7 separate regions of the Homo sapiens genome follow, and all the other regions are linked to region 2. Evidence: promoter capture Hi-C in 16 types of primary human blood cells and fetal thymus (Javierre and others, 2016). All regions are on one chromosome and are shown on one strand. The core of a region is centred on a gene start or on the middle of the fragment in contact, and the rest is flanking DNA. Distances in the headings are between cores, read along the strand shown. Region 1 has its middle 4.1 kb from the start of MMP27. Region 2 holds the start of BIRC3 (baculoviral IAP repeat containing 3). Region 3 overlaps MMP20-AS1 (MMP20 antisense RNA 1). Region 4 has its middle 44 kb from the start of MMP7. Region 5 overlaps MMP20 (matrix metallopeptidase 20). Region 6 overlaps MMP20 (matrix metallopeptidase 20). Region 7 overlaps MMP20-AS1 (MMP20 antisense RNA 1).

The links. Contacts are between HindIII fragments. The CHiCAGO score rates a contact against its expected background, and 5 or more counts as called.
Region 1: a fragment that was not itself captured here is called in contact with the fragment with the promoter of BIRC3 in region 2 in 3 of 17 cell types (M0 macrophages, M1 macrophages and monocytes); the score reaches 7.2 in M0 macrophages.
Region 3: a contact is called between a fragment that was not itself captured here and the fragment with the promoter of BIRC3 in region 2, in 2 of 17 cell types (M1 macrophages and M0 macrophages). The highest score is 7.5, in M1 macrophages.
Region 4: a fragment that was not itself captured here is called in contact with the fragment with the promoter of BIRC3 in region 2 in 1 of 17 cell types (total CD4 T cells); the score reaches 5.9 in total CD4 T cells.
Region 5: a contact is called between a fragment that was not itself captured here and the fragment with the promoter of BIRC3 in region 2, in 1 of 17 cell types (M0 macrophages). The highest score is 5.8, in M0 macrophages.
Region 6: a contact is called between a fragment that was not itself captured here and the fragment with the promoter of BIRC3 in region 2, in 5 of 17 cell types (M0 macrophages, total CD8 T cells, M1 macrophages and 2 more). The highest score is 10.0, in M0 macrophages.
Region 7: a contact is called between a fragment that was not itself captured here and the fragment with the promoter of BIRC3 in region 2, in 2 of 17 cell types (monocytes and M2 macrophages). The highest score is 6.2, in monocytes.

What each region holds. Positions count from the first base shown.
Region 1 is chr11:102,708,484-102,711,183 of GRCh38, forward strand. No RefSeq gene overlaps it. Among named protein-coding and RNA genes, the nearest start is that of MMP27, 4.1 kb to the left of the region's middle. The HindIII fragment of the contact is 2,285 bases long and covers 235-2,519 here.
Region 2 is chr11:102,315,943-102,318,737 of GRCh38, forward strand. It overlaps BIRC3 (baculoviral IAP repeat containing 3), which reads left to right and starts at 1,542. Exons shown (of 9, transcript NM_001165.5): 1 at 1,542-1,629. LOC124902739 (a long non-coding RNA gene) reads right to left here and starts at 1,301. Exons shown (of 2, transcript XR_007062864.1): 1 at 1,144-1,301; 2 at 1-630. RefSeq lists enhancers at 989-2,188, 1,093-1,162, 1,173-1,532, 2,334-2,533, 2,794-2,795. The HindIII fragment of the contact is 7,438 bases long and covers 1-2,795 here.
Region 3 is chr11:102,657,979-102,660,830 of GRCh38, forward strand. All of the region lies in intron 1 of MMP20-AS1 (MMP20 antisense RNA 1), which reads left to right. Among named protein-coding and RNA genes, the nearest start is that of MMP20-AS1, 18 kb to the left of the region's middle. The HindIII fragment of the contact is 1,365 bases long and covers 592-1,956 here.
Region 4 is chr11:102,573,175-102,575,874 of GRCh38, forward strand. No RefSeq gene overlaps it. Among named protein-coding and RNA genes, the nearest start is that of MMP7, 44 kb to the left of the region's middle. The HindIII fragment of the contact is 2,345 bases long and covers 122-2,466 here.
Region 5 is chr11:102,589,310-102,592,009 of GRCh38, forward strand. All of the region lies in intron 8 of MMP20 (matrix metallopeptidase 20), which reads right to left. Among named protein-coding and RNA genes, the nearest start is that of MMP20, 35 kb to the right of the region's middle. The HindIII fragment of the contact is 5,969 bases long and covers 1-2,700 here.
Region 6 is chr11:102,607,903-102,610,602 of GRCh38, forward strand. MMP20 (matrix metallopeptidase 20) reads right to left here. Exons shown (of 10, transcript NM_004771.4): 4 at 2,003-2,128; 5 at 1,035-1,196. Among named protein-coding and RNA genes, the nearest start is that of MMP20, 16 kb to the right of the region's middle. The HindIII fragment of the contact is 2,639 bases long and covers 78-2,700 here.
Region 7 is chr11:102,677,542-102,680,348 of GRCh38, forward strand. MMP20-AS1 (MMP20 antisense RNA 1) reads left to right here. Exons shown (of 5, transcript NR_183620.1): 2 at 162-243. Among named protein-coding and RNA genes, the nearest start is that of MMP27, 27 kb to the right of the region's middle. RefSeq lists an enhancer at 1,726-1,895. The HindIII fragment of the contact is 1,007 bases long and covers 771-1,777 here.

The DNA.
Region 1 (2,700 bases), core at 127-2,626, 390 kb after region 2:
CTTTCCAATATAGTTTTGGTTATAATTTCTTCCTATTCATTTTCTCCTTTTCTACCCATTCATTTTCTCTTCTTTCTTTCCATATCTGTTGGACCTCCTAGATTGAGTCTTTATGCTTCTAATATATCCTATTTTCTACCAACTTAACTTTCCAGCCCACCGATTGTTAATTTCAGCTAAGACATTTAATTTCCAAGAACTCTTTCCAGTTCTGAGTATTCTTTTACATTTTTAAGCTTTTTTTTTGCATTTCATTAGTGTTTTTGGACATAAAATATGTCTTATTTATTTATTTAAATAAATTACTAAATAATTAATAATACATAATTCATAACTAAATAAATAAGAAATTATTAAATAAATAAGACATATTTTACATCCAAAATTATATTCTTATATTTAATTCTTATATTTATTTATTTGTTTGTTTAAATAAACAAAAGAAGGCATACTCTGTCACCCAAGCTCGAATGCGGTGACACAGTCATGACTCACTGCAGCCTCAAACTCCTGGGTTCGAGTGATCCTCCTGCCACAGCCTCCCGAGTAGCTGGGACTATAGTTGCATGCCACCATGCCCAGCTAATATTTTTATTTTTATTTTTTTGTAGGGACAAGGTCTCACTATGTTGCCCAGGCTGGTCTTGAATGCTGAGCCTCAAGCAGTCCTTCTGCCTCAGCCTTCCAAAAGTGTTGGGATTACAGGCACAAACCACTGTACCCAGTCTCTTCTTATTTTTAAAGAATGTTAATGTTAAGTATACTTTAGTTTATTTCGACATTTTCTTTTGCTCCTACAATTGTCTCTAGTTCCTCAAAGTCTCTCCTTTGGTCTCTGTTTTTCACACTGCAATCTTTTCAAAAATATTTGGTGACTTTGTGTTGTGCAATCTGCTTAAGAATGAGAGGCAAGAAAGCAGACTGGAAGCTCTCATGTGTAGAGGCAGGGATGGTGAATTGATGACCTTCACTGCAGGGAGGTGGGGCACTTCCCACACCCTTCATGTGATGTATTAGTCAGGATGAGATTTGGTTGAATGTAACACAAAAACCCAAAATAACAGATGCTTAGTTAAATAAAAATGTATTTTTGCCTCACATTAAAAAAAAGTGCCCAGATTTGGAAGCCTAGGGTTTGTTTGACAGCTCCATATCATCAAGGGTAGGCAACATCTACCTTGCTACACCACTCTGTCAGTACAATGCCTCATGAGTCAGCTGCCTTCTCAACCTCTAGCCATTACATCTGCATTACAGGCAGAAAGAAGGAGGAAGGCAGAGAAAAAGTAATTTTCCAGTCCCTTTCCAGAAGCCCCACACAACATTCTGCTTACACATTTTGGCTAGAAATAAACACATGGCCATATCCAGCTGTAAGCCTAGCTGTAAGCAAGGCTACAAAATATGACGCATTGCTACCTCAAATGAAATTGGAGTCTCACTGCAGAAGAAGTGTAGACTGAAGGTTAAGATAGGTCATTAGCAGCCCTGCCACACTGAGATTTCTCCAGTGTTGGTATCTGTAATTTCTTTTTTTTCTGAGGCTGGTAAGTTACTCCAGAGAAAGCTCATCCAATTTCCCATCATTTAAATCTCCAAGGAACAAAGCTGTAGGAGATTCTTCTGATGTCCTCTGCCACATACCCACAGCATTAATTTAGTTGCACAAGGGGTGGACTGGTTTGTGTAACTCACTTTGCTCTGACAAAGTGCAAAAGTAATTGTGGTTACTTTTGCACCAACCTAATACAACTTTAAGCACAGACTGTGTGTCTTTTTGCTTTCTTCCCAGAGCATTGAGATGCCATCAAGCCTTCCAGGTCAGCATGACAGTACAGCCTGGAAGTGTAAAGAAGTTAACACTCTCAGGGAACATCCTCATCCAATGGGGAATGGAAACTGAAGGATGAATGTTCCAGCCTCCTGCTCACTGGAGATGTGAACGACTGGAAGCTGGTCTGCAGGCTTCTCAGAGGCCCCTGGTGGAATTGAGCTTCAATTGCCCATAGCAGAAACCTTGATAACACATAATTGTATTGGCTTTTCCTCATTCTTTGACTCACTCTTCTTGCTACCTCACTCTTGCTTCCTGGGACTGTGTCCTGAAAATATAATTGCACCAATGTCTTGACTTAGGCTTTGCTTTTGAAGAATCTCAACCTAAGATAAACATGAATCTCATTGTTTAAATTCTAGCTTAGGCAGGGTGGCATGGTGGCTCAAGCCTGTAATCCCAGCGCTTTGGGAGGCCGAGGCAGGAGGATCACTTGAGCCCAGGAGTTTGAGACAAGCCTGGGAAATGTAGTGGGACCCCACCTTTACAAAAGAAAATAACTGAGTGTGGTGGTGTGTGCCTGTAGTCCCAAATACTTGAAAGGCTAAGGTGGGGCATTGCTTGAGGCCAGGGGTTTGAGGCTGCAGTGAGTTGTGATTGCACCACTGTACACCAGCCTGGGTGACAGAGCAAGACCCTGTCTCAAAAATAAATAAATAAACAAAAAATAAATAAATGCATTCTAAGCTTAGGTCTTTATATCTCTTGTGCCCATTCAAAATATCAATGTAATAGCTGGAAAATACTACATGTTGTCAACAAGATAATTTTTTTAAAAGGAATAACTCTGAATTCTTTATTACACTTCATATTACAGTTTACTGTCTATGACTCTGTCAAATGTGGTTAAAAAATAGTATGAGATC
Region 2 (2,795 bases), core at 292-2,791:
GATAAAAGATGTTCAGTACAAACATGTATTAACATTCTGTAGGGGAATTGGAATGTTCAATGACAAAAGGCAATGATAAAATATTTTCAGTTATTAAAGATGACCTGATAATTGCTTCATGGATGATCATGTATGTCAAATTACTATGGTATTAGGATCCATCAAATACATTTAAAAGAGTGCTCTATCAATTTTTTCTGAAAATATCTATGTTTACATTTTGTAGATTCTTGACATGTACAAGAGCTTTATGTTTTAATGTTAAGTTAAAAATGGGCAAGGGAATGCAGAGCTTTTCAAAATTCTTCTGGTGAGTACATAATCAAAAATGTGTAAGGCCTGCAAATTATTTTCAATAATCTCAGGAGTGAGTTGAAAATGGCTTAGAAAGTCTTGATTGAAGCAGACTCAAATGTGGATTAAAATCTCCATATGATAAATACACTTAGTCTTTCTGAAATAATTCCAACTGGAACTTCAGCTGCTATGGACAGCCAAGTCCACCTAAACAAGAGGATGCCTCAGCTCAGTCCAATTGCGTGCAGAATGCACTGGATGCTGTTTCCACAGAACGATGAAGTCTCCAATAATCTTTATGGGCTCTGTCTCTGGTTGGTAATTGTCTTTGATCTACTGGAAGATAGAAAATCAGATGAGCTCTCCAAATCCATCTGTTACCCTGGTACGGATGGCTCTCAGATAAAGTTGCTTAAATTTACTGCTTAGAGAACGTTGAGGGAAATATGGCAGTGCAATTAGACTCAAAGATGTCAGGTTTCCCTGAGAATGGCACTGCAACTCAGAAACCTGCCCTGTGAGATCAAAGGCTATAAAGGAGGGATTTTTTTAAGTAGCCAACTCCACCCTACTTATTAAAAAAAAAAAAAAAACAACTCACCAAACCAAACAAAAGTATTTCCATACAGAAAATTTACCAAGCCATTTCAATCTTTAAAATGGTAAAATAAACTGCAAAGGAGAACTGCATGATTTTTTTCACATACCCCTACATTTCCTTTCACCTCTTACTTTCTTGATCAGAACAAAAAGTAAAAATAAATAGAAATATTTCACAAAGTTTCGATTTTTTTTTTTTTAAATGCTGGACTTCTGCAGCTATAGTAGAAGATTGAAAAACCTAACCTTTTTACGTGTAAAGTGTATGGCGGATGGAGGGTGGAGAACAGGGCATATTGACCTTTTCCAGGCAGGCTAAGCAATGATCGTCCTCTCTATATGGGTTGTTATCAAGATTTCCTCTGACCCACGAGCAATGAAGCAAATGTCTTTCAGTAAATGCCGCGAAGATATGCCACGGTTAAGAGTCATGCTTTTGGGTCATGGAAATCCCCGAGTGGGTTTGCCAGGCCACTGATTAAGAGGAAGTGTGTGTGGTTATTACCGCTGGAGTTCCCCTAAGTCCTAAAAGGAAAGCACCAGTGCACATGCAAACCACTGGGAGGAGTGCGGAACGCCTGGTACAGATAGGGGTGGGGATTTGGGTGACGCATTTAAAAGACAGCGTGAGACTCGCGCCCTCCGGCACGGAAAAGGCCAGGCGACAGGTGTCGCTTGAAAAGACTGGGCTTGTCCTTGCTGGTGCATGCGTCGTCGGCCTCTGGGCAGCAGGTGGGCAAGGAAGGCTGGTGTGTGTGTGTGTGTGTGTGCGTGTGTGTGTGTGTATGTGTGCGCGCGCGCGCGCCTCCCCTGGTGTAAGAGATGTGCCAGCGGCTGGCCGAGGGGCGCTTAGGGCTAGAGCCCGGGGCGCTGCAGAGGTTGAGAGTCAGTGGGTGGGGCGCAGTTATCAAACACCAGGGCCCAAAAGCAGGCTCTAGATAGGTTCCAGGTGCTCAATTTCTATTTCACGTTTGGAGTGAGCCAGTGGAATTGTGAAGTTGTGGCATTTTGATTCGGTTGCCAAGAGTTATCACTGGGCCTTTGCAGGTGCCAAATAAATTTCAGGACAGAGCCTAAGGCAGAGCTCTGGCACAGGAAGGAAGTAAAACGTTTAATGAGCAAATGGACGCATGTTTCCAAGCGGTGGTAGGAAGACAGCAGTTTTTGGTTGTCTTCCTGGTGATCAGCATGGAAACCTAGTAGTGCTCTTACTCTGATCAATACATTGTCGAAGGCATGTACCTGATGCTAACGTAACAATAATATTAAATATTGACTTTATTTGCTATTATTTATTGCTAACATTAAGTACTGCTACCTGCTATGTGCTAGGTTTGTCTCTGAAGACTTTACATGTATTTTTCACGTTTAATTATCATAATCTTAAGAAGCAGGTACCATAATTATCTCCATTTGACAATGAGGAAACTGAGGCTCTTGGAGATTTACTTGTGCAAGGTCATGCTTCTGGTTACCGGACTGCTTGGTATTGGGCACCCCCGATGTCTGACTCCAAAGCCTGATACTAATCAATCACTGAGCTGACTCTGTGGTCATTAATATAAAATTGATAGAAGTACTGTGGTCACTCAGGTCTCAGTCATTTACTTCTTCAACGGGAAGTCTTCGTGTCTACCCCATATACCAAGCTCTGCAGATGCTATGAGTGGGAGGGCAGGTACAGAGATGAAACATATTAATAGTTGCCATTCTAAAAGAGCTTACTGTCTAGCGGGAGGCAGAAAGAAAAGGCACACTTGCCCTCCAGTGTCAGAAAAATGGATGTGCTGCATGCCCAAAGGGTAGGGATGCCCAACAGCCCTGGGACTGGGGAGGTTGCCTTCTTGGTAGGTTAAATGAATGAGTCAGAAGAGGAGAGGCTGGGGACTGAGCCAATC
Region 3 (2,852 bases), core at 24-2,523, 340 kb after region 2:
GGGCAACAAGAGCGAAACTCCATCTCAAAAAAAAAAAAAAAAAGAAAAGAAAAAGAAATACCAGAAAACTGTATGTGAATGGGAATGTAATAATAATAAACTATTTGACTTGGAAATAAACAATATTTACATAATAAAAATATAAACACTGTGATATAAGAGGAAGTGTAGGGAAGAAAGGAGGTGGAGGGTTGGTGGGAATGTAATAGAGCTAATATTAACAGAAGTCACTAGATAATGTATAAGATACATTAATTAGGAAATAAATGCACAAGCACATTATTTAGAGAAATGAAGTTGAATACCAGAAGACATAATTCATTATGTTTGCAGTAGTTATCTCTCGTTGTCAGACTGAGGCATAGTAAAAGACAGCTTTAAGTATTTTATTACTATTTGATTTAATTATTAAGGAAAATTGTAAATTGATTTGCATCACATGCACTGTTAACTTGAAGCCAACTGTAAAATGAAGCCAACTGTATGTATTGGTCATAAAGAGTGAAAACTATATTTATTTGTCCCATTGTACAAGCCTATTCCAGCTTCAATTCCTTCCGTCCTCCCTCTTTTCCTTTCCATTAAAACAGAAGCTTCCCTTGCCCTAGGTAAAGGGAGGTATCAATTGAAAGACAAAGAGTGATTAAAGTCATGTATTATTTGCTTTGGAGCTTCCAAGTCTGCAGGTCTTGATAATTTAGAGATTATTAATAAATAATTTTACCTGACTTGAGTATCACATTACTCATCAATTTTGCAACCTAATCCCAAATTATATTGTGAATTATTGAAACAAAAGATAATACATCTTTATCCTTATAATAATAGTTATATATTATTGAACGCTTGCCCCATGCTAGATCTGTTCTAGGTATTTTATGTATTTCATCTAATTTATTCCTCATAGAAACCCTATCAAGTAGGGCTATCATTAATCTCATATTTAGTGGAAACTGATACTCCATATTGTCCTTGGATTGTGGCTGGAAATATTCTCTGTTCTCTTTTGCTGATATCCAGTAACTTGAGATCATGCACTTAGATATACTTGAAAAGAGCGTATACACCCTACAAGTCTTATGATTGCCATTTTCTGTTCATGAAACCTTTTTCTGCAACATTCAGTGGTGCAGCTGCAGATCAGGGAGCCGGGGTGTAGGCAGAACGTCTTTCTGTAAGTTCCCGCTGGGCTCAAGCTCTAACTCATTTCGATTATGCTACAATAACTGGCATTAATGCTGTATTTCTTTGTCCCTTCTGAACCCATGGCTGCAGGATATTTTTTACAATGTGGCATTCGAGACAGCAGCTCCTCATCAAATGGAGTTGTCTCAATCTGTTTGCCTTCCTTGATGTATGAGGCCCTTATTAAATGTAATCCTTAGTTCTAAACAATAGTATTCTGGTGAGGTTTGGCTTTCTCCCACTCCCAGATAACTATACAGATTACAAAGTGCTTTCACATGTATTGTTTTATTTTATCAGTGTAGCAATTCTCTGGGCTACATTTATGCAGTATTTATTACATGCCAGGCCGTCTAAATTATGTAACCCCCCAATCATTCAAGGTGGACGTTGTTATACCCATTCTATTGATGGGAAAACAGGCTCAGAGAAGTGAAATGGCTTGCGAAGACAACCAGATGGTAAAGGACAGAACTTGGACTAAAACTTGGACTTCTAAAGCAAGTTCTCAGTTTCTTTCAAACACTGTAGATGCCCTTAGGTTTCCAACCATTGAAGTAAATTCCACTCCTTTAGCCAGTTGCCTGGTGGAATATTGTTGTTCAGCAGGAGTTTCACCCATCTTCGTGTGTGTGTGTGCGTGTGTGTGTGTTTGTGTGTGTGTGTGTGTGCAACATCTACTTCTTTTAGGACCTTGAAATGGACCTATTCAGCTGGCCAACCACGAAATCTAATGCCTTATAAGCACAATTATTTGTCTTATGAGACCTAAGCTTTCTACCTCTTGGAAAGACCTGTATATATATGTCATTGGAAAATAAATTCCCAACACTGCTGTTTCTTAACCTGTGTAATGATTCTGCTGACAGCTGCTGAGTGAGTATAACTAAAGGGTATATAGATACCAAACCTTACATTAACAAAGAATCAAGGTGAATACATGTGCAGACAACCTTTCTTAAATTTCTTGGACCCCATCTTTGCCTAGTATATCTGAAGCATTTGGATCCTTACTTGAAAGGTGTGTTTTAAAATGAAAACATGGTTATTATGTTTAATTTTCTGTCTCTCTCACCTCTAGGTTTTCTAGTCAAAGTAGATTTCAGGCACTTCTTCTGTTAAGATTGTAATTCTCCATTCTTTTTTTCTTTCATATATTTTTTTCTGCAAGTAGAACCTATCACACTATCTTATAGCTGTTTTTTTCTTTAAAATAAAAATTTATAAGACAGGCACATAAATATTAGAAGCAGTTATCTTGCGGTAGGAGTGCAGGGATTATGCATAGGTATTGTTCTTTTCTCTCTGTACTTTTTTTGTGTTTTGTAATTAGAAAAAAGTTACATAAAAATGTACTTTAGTAATCTCTCTAAGGCCATACTTTATTATTTGTTTATTTTTTTTTTTTTGAGACGGAGTCTTGCTCTGTCCCCCAGGCTGGAGTGCAGTGGCGCGATCTCAGCTCACTGCAAGCTCCGCCTCCCAGGTTCACACCATTCTCCTGCCTCAGCCTCCTGAGTAGCTGGGACTACAGGCGCCTGCCAGCACGCCTGGCTAATTTTTTGTATTTTTAGTAGAGACGGGGTGTCACCGTGTTAGCCAGTATGGTTTCGATCTCCTGACCTCATGATCCGCCCGCCTCAGCCTCCCAAAGTGCTGGGATTACA
Region 4 (2,700 bases), core at 44-2,543, 260 kb after region 2:
GAATGTTAAGACTAATGGAGAAGACATTAAAATGAAGAGATGTTGCATTAAAAAAAAAAAGAGTCCTATTTTGGATCCCAAAGCCATTCACTAATTTCCCATTGTAATTTATTTACCAGCAAGCTTCCCAATTCTGCTTCTAGTTCAATTCCAAGGGTCTAGGTGTTGGGAGCAAACCTGAAATTATGACATTTTGAGTATAACAGGATACCTTTTAAACTGATCATGTTGACAAGCCACGTAGGGATTGGAATGAGACCAAAGACAGGAGACTTGGCAGATGACAGATGATCAGAAGATGCTGTTTCTACTTTTTACCCAGACCTACTGGGGAGAAATGCCGACGATCTTTTGGCTTGGACTCTTCTAAGCTCCATTATGGTAGTCTAAAACACCAACCTATTGGCCAGCAGTATGCATTTCCTCTCAAATGGCACTTCATTGGGTAATTTTAGCTATGAATATTCACAAAGAACCTTCAATATCATTGTCTGTAGAAGAAAAATAACTAACAGGAATAAAGAAAAACATCTGGATAATATATAAATAAAAGCACCCTGAAGACCCTGTGAGCATTTAAAAATATTATACACAGAATTCTGAATGAAAAACTGCATAGTTTTTTTGCCATTTGCTTTGTGAAATGGACATCTAAGGTGTTTTGCAATAAACATTTGAAAAGAAACAGAAGACCCAAAGGCAAACTTAGGTCTTTCATTTAGGACTAGGCTAAATGGAAGAGGGCTTGGTTTATACCAGAGAAAATTTAATATGGAGCTGTTAGGAAAGCTCCCCAAGGAGGTGAATCCATTCATCCTTAGTAGCCTGTGTAGTGCTTTCAAAGGTTCAGCCCACAAAGAGTCATCACTGAGATTAATAGGATAATGCATAGAATTCATCAGGAAGTGAACTCTGTTTTGCTACCTCGTGATCCTCAAGGGAGTACTTCAACCACACTTTGTCCAAAACTGTTATTTAATAAGTCATGTTTGCACTCAGTTACTCTGAAGTCAAATGAGTAGTTTATGTTATAAATTATTTCTGCACAACGTTCTTGTATCATATGAGGATAAGTGCTCTGTGTTATGACACAATCACACCTTCTTGTGCTTTAGAGAGACTGTATTTTTCCAAAATACATACTAATTTTATATCTGAGAGCAAAGAGCTTTCTTCTTAAGACAGGGTCTTGCTCTGTCACCCAGGCTGGTGCAGTGGCACAATCTCAGCTCACTGCAACCTCTGACCCCTGGGCTCAAGTGGTCCTCCCACCTCAGCCTTCCAAGTAGCTGGGACCACAGGCATGCGCCACCATGCCTAGCTAATTTTTTGTATTTTTAGTAGAGACAGGGTCTCACCATCTTTCCCAGGCTGGTCTCAAACTCCTGAGCTCAAGTGATCCATCCACCTTGGCCTCCCAAAGTGTTAGGACTACAGGTGTAAGCCCCTATGCCTGGCCTAAAAGCCAAGAATTCTTTAACTCAACAAAAAATAATGATTTATAAGAATTATTTTTTGGAGATGGGGGATAAACATAGTATTTTTAATTATTTGATTTAATTTGACATTTGGAAGAGAAAAATTTCAGGTCATTGATTATCAATTCTTGTGATATTATAGCTCATCAGATGTTTAGCTATCTCAAGGGACATATACAAATTCTCCAAAATATCACCAAACAAAATGAACTCTAATGGCTTCAAAAACAACAATTATAGAGCCCCTGTAGAGTGCCAGGGACTACTTTGCATATTTTGACTCATATATTTAAGGCTCTAAATATCCTTAGGAGATAAAAACTGCCATTATTCCAATTTTATAAAGGAAGACACTGAGACAGAGAATGAGGATGAGGGAATTTGGTCAACATCACACAGTTGAAAATAGAAGATCTGGAGTTTGAATCCATCAGTCAGACCTGAGAGCATATGCTTTATTGCTTTCAGTGAATTCATTGACTAGTGAAGTGTCTTCTGTATGCACGATTCTGGGCTAGTGCTGGACATGAGGAGGACATCTGGCTGGTTGCGTGCAGCACTGGATGTCCTCAGGCTGGTGCTTCATTGTCATGTGGTCCCTGACACAGTTGCCAGAATGCATGACCTCCATGGATCATCACACTACTTTGATCTCCTTCTTTTTTTTAATGTAACAGCTTTATCAAGATATAGTTAACATAACATATAATTCACTCATGTAAAGTGTACAATTTAATGGCTTTTAATATATTCACAGAGTTGTGCAACCATCACCATCATCAGTTTTAGAACATTTTCATTATCCCAAAAAAAAGAACCCCATACCCATTAGTAGTCACTCCTTATAACCCCCTCCCCCAACTACTGACAAGCACTGGTCCGCTTTATGTCTCCATAGATTTTTTTATTGTGAACATTTCATATAAATAGAATCATACAATATGTGACCTTTTCTGTCTGGCTTCTTTCATTTAGCATGATGTTTTCAAGCTTCATCCATGTTACAGCATGTGTTAGGACTTCATTTCTGCTTATTGTCGAATAACATTCTGTTGTCTGAATTTGCCACATTTTACGTATTCATTCATTACTCAATGGACATTTTTCCACTCTTTGGCTATTATAAATAACGATGCTATGAACATTTATGTGCAAGTTTTTTGTGTAGACATGTTTTAATTTCTCATAGGTATATACTTAGGAGTGAAATTGCTGTGTCATA
Region 5 (2,700 bases), core at 190-2,689, 270 kb after region 2:
ATCACTTCCTCTAAGAATTATTTCCTGATAATTTTGCTAAGTTGGCCATTTCCTCTTTGTTTTGACCCACTGATCTTCATGAAGTCTTGTATCAGAGCACTTTTGGCACTTGGATTTCTGTTAGTTATTTATCTATATATTTACCCTCAACTGTAAGATCTGTTGAGGGCATTAATAACACCCAACATGAGCTGAATGCTTATTATGTGACAGGCATTTCACATTTTTCCCTTTCAATGCCATAATTCTAGGAAGTGTATACTATTTCTACCCCCATTTTGCAGATGATGAAACAGACAGAAAGGTGATCCAAATTGTCAGATAATTGTTGGTAGAGTTAAGATTAACACTAGGACTTTTTACTTCTGCCCATTCTTAACCAGCAAACTCTACACCTTCTCTTGAATGTCACTAGTACACAGGCTGACACATAATATGTCTAATAAATGTAGGTTGAATGTGGTAGTTTAGTCATAAGTTTTTTAAAATTTAAAACATGAAAAAACAAGATTTTTGAACCCTATTTCATCTTATTTTTATTACTTATTATTTATTTATTTATGGTGACTATAAAATCCTCAAATAAAAACATCTATTTCTAGTATTTCTGAGGCATTCAGGAAGAAGAGAATGTGGAAGACGTATTCTACTTTGCAGCAATGATGCCCCGAGTCTGACTGTACAGAAAGAGTGATTCAGGGTAGAGGGGCAATATGATTGAAAAGGGGTAGGATCTGCAGATTTGCAAGTCACTTTGCATAAAATTCAGAAATCATTGACTATCTTGAAGAATTATGGAGGTGGTGACACCCCCTGCTGCCAGAAATCCCTTGATGTAGCCACTGCTCTGCTACTGGTAGGCAAGGAAGAATATGTAAAAGGAGAAATCAGCCATAGGTAGTGGAAATAATGTAAAAAATGAAAAACTGATGGAACCATTAGGGCCTGCTAGAAAGAGAATAGGAAGGAATAAAAGTAAGGGGAAGTGGTTCTAGTTGGCAAAGTTTAACCAATATGTCATTTGCTGATGTAGCATGTAACGGCATCAACATAGTAGAGCCTCCTATTTGGATTTGACATTGTGGTCCTCTGTGCGCTGCTCCCCTATAAGTAACTACCACACAGAGACATGGGTCCTCCCTTTTAGAGCCTAATCCAACCTGGCCCCAAGCCAACCTTCAATCCTCTGTGGAGGAAGTTCCTCGGTCATTTCCTCATGGCATTTCATTCACTAAAACTGGGTCCAAACTCTGGGAGTTCTTGCAGAATTTCCAGAGACTTTTCTTCCCTTGGCACATTACTTACGTCACAGACTGAACTAGCATGAGGAGCAAGGAAGAACTTGAGAAATGTCTAAGACAAATAAAACCTAACACACTTTCAGTGGATGTCAATGTAGTGAAATTCTTATTCCATAACTTGAGGCTTGGGACCTTCCATATTTTTGAGTATGGCCATGTGCTTACCTACAAAACTTCATTTATCTCCTTTGTCCTTTCTTCTCAGTTCCATCCTTCTACAGTAGGGACATAATGACTAAAGCTCCCCTGGCCACCTCGAGTCATGAGGCAACCACGAGAATGCAAGTATGTGTTAAGAATAGCAGAGCAAAATGTTTAAGGGAACTTGGGTCCCTGTTGATCACCAGCCTGCCATACTGGCTCTAAACTGTCAGACTTTTTACACATATGAGAAAAACAAACCCTCATGTGTTTAAGCCACAATTATTTTGGGGTCTCTGATACTAGTGGCTAAATTAAATTTCAAACCAATAGAAGGCTTCATATGACAATAAGATGTCACACATATGAGGCCCTGTAAAGCACACTGTGCAGAATTCAGGGGTGTTTATGAATAGGGCCAGTACAATAGGTTTCTCTAAACTTTTGAGCTATAGGTGAGGGTTGTCTTACTCCTTGTTGCATACACCAGTGTATGTGTTGGAGTGCGTAAAGTAGAAGACTGCCATTGCTGAAGGGATTGTCTATGTTTTGCCAAAAGCAGCAATTTCAGTCCAATGTTAGGGGCCTTCAGTATTTAAAAAGGAAATTCCCTTTGACCAGATTTTTGACTGAATCGCCGCTCAGAGAAATATTGAGGTTTAAGCAATTTGTTATGCATCACAACTTGTTAAGAAATTATTTGTTAGTTACCATATAAGTTCTGTTGCTGAAGAATAACTCTTTTTGAGCACCTGCTCTATGCAGACCTTGCTAGGTATCTGTGTCTGCATGCATTACATCACTTAATACCCTCTGTAACCTGAGAAGGTTAGAAGTGCCTACGATGGTTTCCTTCCTTAACCAGAAAAATGAGCTTGTTAACATTTTAGTTAATGCCCTAGACCAACTTTTCGGTGAATCTATTTATCTAGATTACAAAAGACTTCTCCTTAGTAGACACTCACAGAGGCCCAGTTGGAAAGGTACAGTACGATTTTCTCTGGGGGCAAAGAGCATCACTAAAATCAGAGAGCCTTGACCTCCCCATCCTAAAACTTACAGAGAATTTTGAACCTCTGCCCACATCTCTTAACTTAGCTGTTAAGTTTCAATCCAGCCTGGCTGAAGGTATATGCTTTACTGCAGGTGCTGGTGGGTGGTAGATTAGACCAAAGATCAGGTGATAAATGGGCAAGAGAGACAATGGGAGAGTGGATAATTCCCCCATTGAGAATCACACTGTGAATACCCTTTAAAA
Region 6 (2,700 bases), core at 147-2,646, 290 kb after region 2:
TGGCATTTTTCCTGTCCCTCAAGGGTCAGGCAGATCTGGTGCTTTCCCCCTCCTGGAAATGGATAGAGCTGGCTGAAAGCTTCTTGGGATGAAATTTGTCTTTTGTGCCTCAGGTGAAATCTGACTGATTTTGAATGGTGTGCCCATTTCTGGGCTTCCCACCCTCCAGATCCCCTGGGGCCAGATTCCTAGCACCCCAGGAAGCTGTTGGGGGATCTGGGTCTCTAGGCACTGAGAAGATGGGGAGAAGCTCTGATAATCAGAAGCCTAATAACCAGGTCTCCAGGGCTCAAAGGAAAAGCAATTTCCTAGATCTTTTTGCCTTTTATCCATTAAAGAAAAATTGTCAAGGTCTAAGGATGTTTCAAGATTCCTTCTGATGGATTAATTGGTTTGTTTTTCCCTTAAGGAAAATTGGATACAGAGTTTCTAATAATCCCTTATTACCTTTTGGAAGAATATTAATACTTGAGGTAACTTATCTTAGGATATCTTAGGATACTTACTGTCTTCAAACCTCAGCTTTCTCAGCTATCAAATGAGGAAAACACTTCACACCCCACAGGTTGGTTGTGAGGCTGGTGTAAGACTACACACATGAACCTGTTTTGTAAACTGCAGATTGGCTACATGACTGGGTGCAGAGTTATTTTAATCATGATTGCTATTTTTAGGGAGATAAGGTCACTTATCTGCAAATGGGTAAGCACCACATATATGAACTATAAACTATATCCATCCTCTCCCAATGTGTAAATTCTAACCTGCACTCAAAGGAAAAACATAAACCGACAAATGACTATATTTTCTAAGGCTATCCAGGACTAATATGCTGTAAAGGAAAGATGCAAAATTTAATCACACATCACACACATATTTATAACTAGCAAATCAGCTCTTCACAAGAAGGCATAGTTGGGGTTATGGTTTCTAGATTGATCTTTACCAATGCAGATAAAATGCACTTTCTTTAATTCGGAGACTGAATGCCTGCCAATTTCAGGGTGAGTCATCAAAGAAGGTAATAATCTTACCGTATAATGCCTGGATCCCTTTCACATCATCTTTGGGGAGGTGGAATCCATAGGGATTCTTGTACTTATAAGTTGGGTACATCAGTGCTGATGGGTCTGTGGAATGGGCCAGGCCCAGGGCATGGCCAAATTCATGAGCAGCAACGGTAAACAAATTAAAACCTAGACAATATGAGAGAGAAAAAAACAGTATCAACACAGGTTTTTGTTTTCTCCATCTTCCATCTTTATAGTATAATTTATGCCCACATTACAGTTAACCCATCTCCTTCTCCTAACTGGATTATTCAAAGGTTGGTAGGTTATTCTGGCACTTAGCTTTGGTGACTTTAATTCTTCCCCCCTTGGCTAGAAGGGGGTTGGGGGTGGGGGAGGACAGAAATGCACATCAATCCATTTTATTCATCATCAGTGATGTTTGGTAGACTGATAAAGCAGAGCCTTGGAACAAATAGTGGCAATGCTATTTGGCAATAATTCATAAATTTAGACCACAAATGCCTTAATAGTTCCCTGCTATTACAGCCTACACCTTTTGATCCACACGTTTCACACTGAAGATTTCCAGATGACCTGTATGATATTCTGGAAACTTTATTCCCATCCCCAACACACTTCTCAGGACAGTACTGATTCTCTTGGGTCATTTCTGAATGTAGCCCATTTCCAAGAATAAGTAAGAAATCATAAATACTAGGTTGTTGAAGGAAACGAGAGCAGTGCGTTGAGAAGGGGATGACTGGTTCTTCAGATGATATGCTATGAAACAGATCAGACAAGTCTACAACACAATTTGGGGTGGATTTTTTTCCCTTATGTGATCCCTTTTGGATTTTTGGCTTACTTGTTTTTCCTAGCCAGCCCCCCTAGTTAAAGGGTGGCTTGGGACGTTGAACCTCAAGGTTTCATGATGGAGCCCAGAAGAAGGTACAATATTTTCCAGGTTATGGTGAATTGTGCATATATACCATTCGTTCCCATAGTCCACTTCTCAGCATTGTCGAAATGTGTATCTCCTCCCAGGCCTTCTCCAGGAGCAAATGCATGGGCTAGAGTCCCCCGAGGCCCATCGAATGGATAGGAATCCCCGTGATCTAAACAAGTGGGGAGAAAGGCCAACAAGATTGAGTCCTTCTAGAAATTCTGAGGGGCGCATCATATTACAGAAAAGGGACATTTTGAGTAGCATTGACACTTAAATTCACTTTTCAGTATTTATTTGTTATAATGGGAAGTTCATTTGTCAATGAGTAACAGCCCATTGAAAAATAAAAAAGGCTAATTCATACTGCAAAGATAGTAAGCATTAGCAATAAAAAAACACCTGTTTTGGGTTATTGTTGCTATCATGACATCTGTTAACTGACACATAGGATACTGTGGACTTTGCATGTGCCACAGATTACAAAAGGAGAACGACTGGGGCGGGGCGGGGCGGCGGGGGGGCGGCATTCGATAGCAAAACCTACCCCACTGATTGGAATGTGAACCTGTTAGCAGAATGACCTTTCAAATTTGATTCAGCTGAGACAGTGATAGTGAATTGAACAAGTGTGTGCTTTCTGTTTCTATAGCACAATACAGTTTAAGGAAGTGTCAAAAATCTCTCTGTAATTTTGACATACTTTCATGTGGAAAACATATGAAAGTCATAAAGGTGTTTATA
Region 7 (2,807 bases), core at 24-2,523, 360 kb after region 2:
TTTTCTTTTAAACCTTCCTTGATAGAATCACCCTCTTTTGTAACCGCCCACTCCAAGCTAAGCCCAGGTAGAATTGGCAGTTGGCTTGTTACTCTTACTTCTCTGGGCTTTTCATAAACAGTGGAATTATATTTACTTTTTCCTCTCTTCCTTTCATGCAGAGCCCAAGGATGAAAACAGAGAAGTAATTAATGGCAGCTTTCCTGGGCCAGAAGAATAAATAAGGAATTATCTTACAAACAGGTGCTTCCCATTCCCCTGACCAGCTACATAGTCATGTCAGGCATCATGATTCGAGACCAGCCTGACCTACATGGTGAAACCCTGTCTCTACTAAAAATACAAAAGTTAGCAGGGCATGGTGGCAACGTGCCTGTAATCCCAGCTACTCAGGAGGTTGAGGCAGGAGAATTGCTTGAACCCGGGAGGTGGAGGTTGCAGTGAGCTGAGATCGTGCCACTGGACTCCAGCCTGGGTGACAGAGTAAGACTCGGTCTCAAAAAAAAAAAAAGAAAAGAAAAATGTTTTTTCTGTCCTTAGATGATTCTTGTAAGCAAATTCTCTTTCCAAGTAGTTTGCCAAATTGATTTAATGAAAGTCCATATGCTTCAAACAGATTCCTAAAGCCTCAGATGCCAGGTGGGTGTTGGCCTTTTCTGGGAAAGATGTTTCACAACTGGCTATAACCTCTCATTCCAGTGTCCCAAACCCTTGGCCCAGCCAAGGGAGGTGACTGTTTTCTTTAGGAACTGAGTGACTGCTTCTGAGGAAGCTTGAGTAAATGTGAGGTTGGCTTCTGTTTGATAAACACGTGGCACTCAATGGGGACTTTTGGACAGAGGAGACTGCATGGGTGACAGCTGGTGGCCTTCACCAAATCCTGAAGTTAAATTTAGGGAATCAGACCCAAGAACACTAAAAGGATTAGGGGCTCTCCACCTGTCTTCCTTGGTCTTGCTCTCTATGCTCTCAGGTCTTCACTGTTGTAGCCACAGTGGTGTTAGAAGGACGAAAATGCTAGGGTAGGGATGGGGCAGGGGTAGTGTGAACTATAGTGGTTTTCAAAATGGGCAACATCAATATAACCTGGGAGCTTGTTAGAAATGCACATTCTCAGGTCTGCTGAAGACCGACTGAATCAGGAAATCTAGGGGTGGGGCCCAAGACCTCCAGGTAATTTTGATGCATGCTAACATATGTGAACCAGCATTTTAGAAAGTTTATGCTACTTAAAGAAAGTCTGTGAAGCAACACCCCCTGGGAACTTGTTAGAAATGCAGAATCTCAGGCCCCACCCTTCTGAGATTCAGGTTTCATTGGTCTAGGGTGGAGGAGCCCAGTTATTGGTCATTTAAAAAACCTCCCGTGTGATTCTAACTTTGCATCCAGAATAGAGAATTACTGCTCTAAGGAAGAAATTGTTAAATGCATTTTATGTTTTCCAGGAGAAAAGATGGTCCCTTCCACAGAGACAGTAAAAGATATGAATGATTTTTCTTTGTAGATTCACTGGAGTTCCACTAGAATAGTGCAGTTATCACATCTTCCTCCAAAGAGGGGTAGGTTTCAGAGTTTCAGCAGTAGAAGAAATCTGGGAGGAATCAAGCCAGTGTGCAACATCAACATCAGTTATATTAGGCTGTTCTTGCATTGCTATAAAGATATATGAGACAGGGTACTTTTTATAAAGAAAAGAGGTTTAATTGGCTCACGGTTCTGCAGGCTTTACAAGAAGCATAGTGCTGGCATCTGCTCAGTTTCCACGGAGGCCTCAGGAAGCTTACAAGCATGGCAGAAGGCAAAGGGGGAGCAGGGACGTCACATGGCCAGAGAAGGAGCAAGAGAGAGAGTAGGAGGAGGGTGGCGGGGTGAGGTGCCACACACTTTTAAACAACCAGATCTTGCACTAACTCAGTATCACGAAGACAGCACCAAAGTATAAGGATCCGCCCCCATGATCCAAACACCTCCCACCAGGCCCCACCTCAAGCACCGTGGATTACAATTCAACATGAGATTTGGACGTGGGTAAATATCCAAACTATATCATCAGTCAGTGCTCCTTTCAATTGCCTCAGGGGAATGCAAGAAAGAGCTAAGAGGAAGTTACTACCAGTGTGATGAGAAAGCTGTGAAGTACTGAAATATGGAATAAGAAAAGGAGGGCCCAGCAGTCCAAATTCAAGTCCAACCCAGCCCTGGGTCAATACCTGCAATCAAGGGCTCTACCTAAATGTTGGGGACGGGGTTAGCCAGTAGGAGAAAGGCCCAGCCTGGGGGAGCAGAAGGCAGTCCTTCCAGGCAAGCTTCAGAACTGGCCCAGCCAGCTGTGTGCCAGTCAGCACTTGGCTGCAGCCACCATAGGACACTGAAAAGAAACTGTCTTGGGCATTCAGGCTAATCAAACTGACTGTGTATATATGATATCCTGAGGAAGCTGCAGCTCTGTGATTGTATTAACGTCTGCTCCCATTAAGACCTGCTTCCAGTGTCTTATATTCTTTGGAGTGACTGGCTGTTACATCTTTGTTAAATTTTAAATTTACTCAGTGTTCCTCTTCTTTGGCTTGTGTAAGACAATAAGCTGGATTTTAATATTCTCCAAACCACCACTGGTGCTTTAGGCGTGGGTCTCATGGAATAAATGCAGGGGACGTGAAAGCTTGAACAAGATCATGGAAGTATGACCGTGAGATTTTTTATCTCAATCTCACATATATTCTTTTAGTTCTTGTTGGTATTAGATACTTTACTGAATATCAAAATGCCGAAGGCTTGCTCCCATCATTTAAGAAGGGGGTCATAAG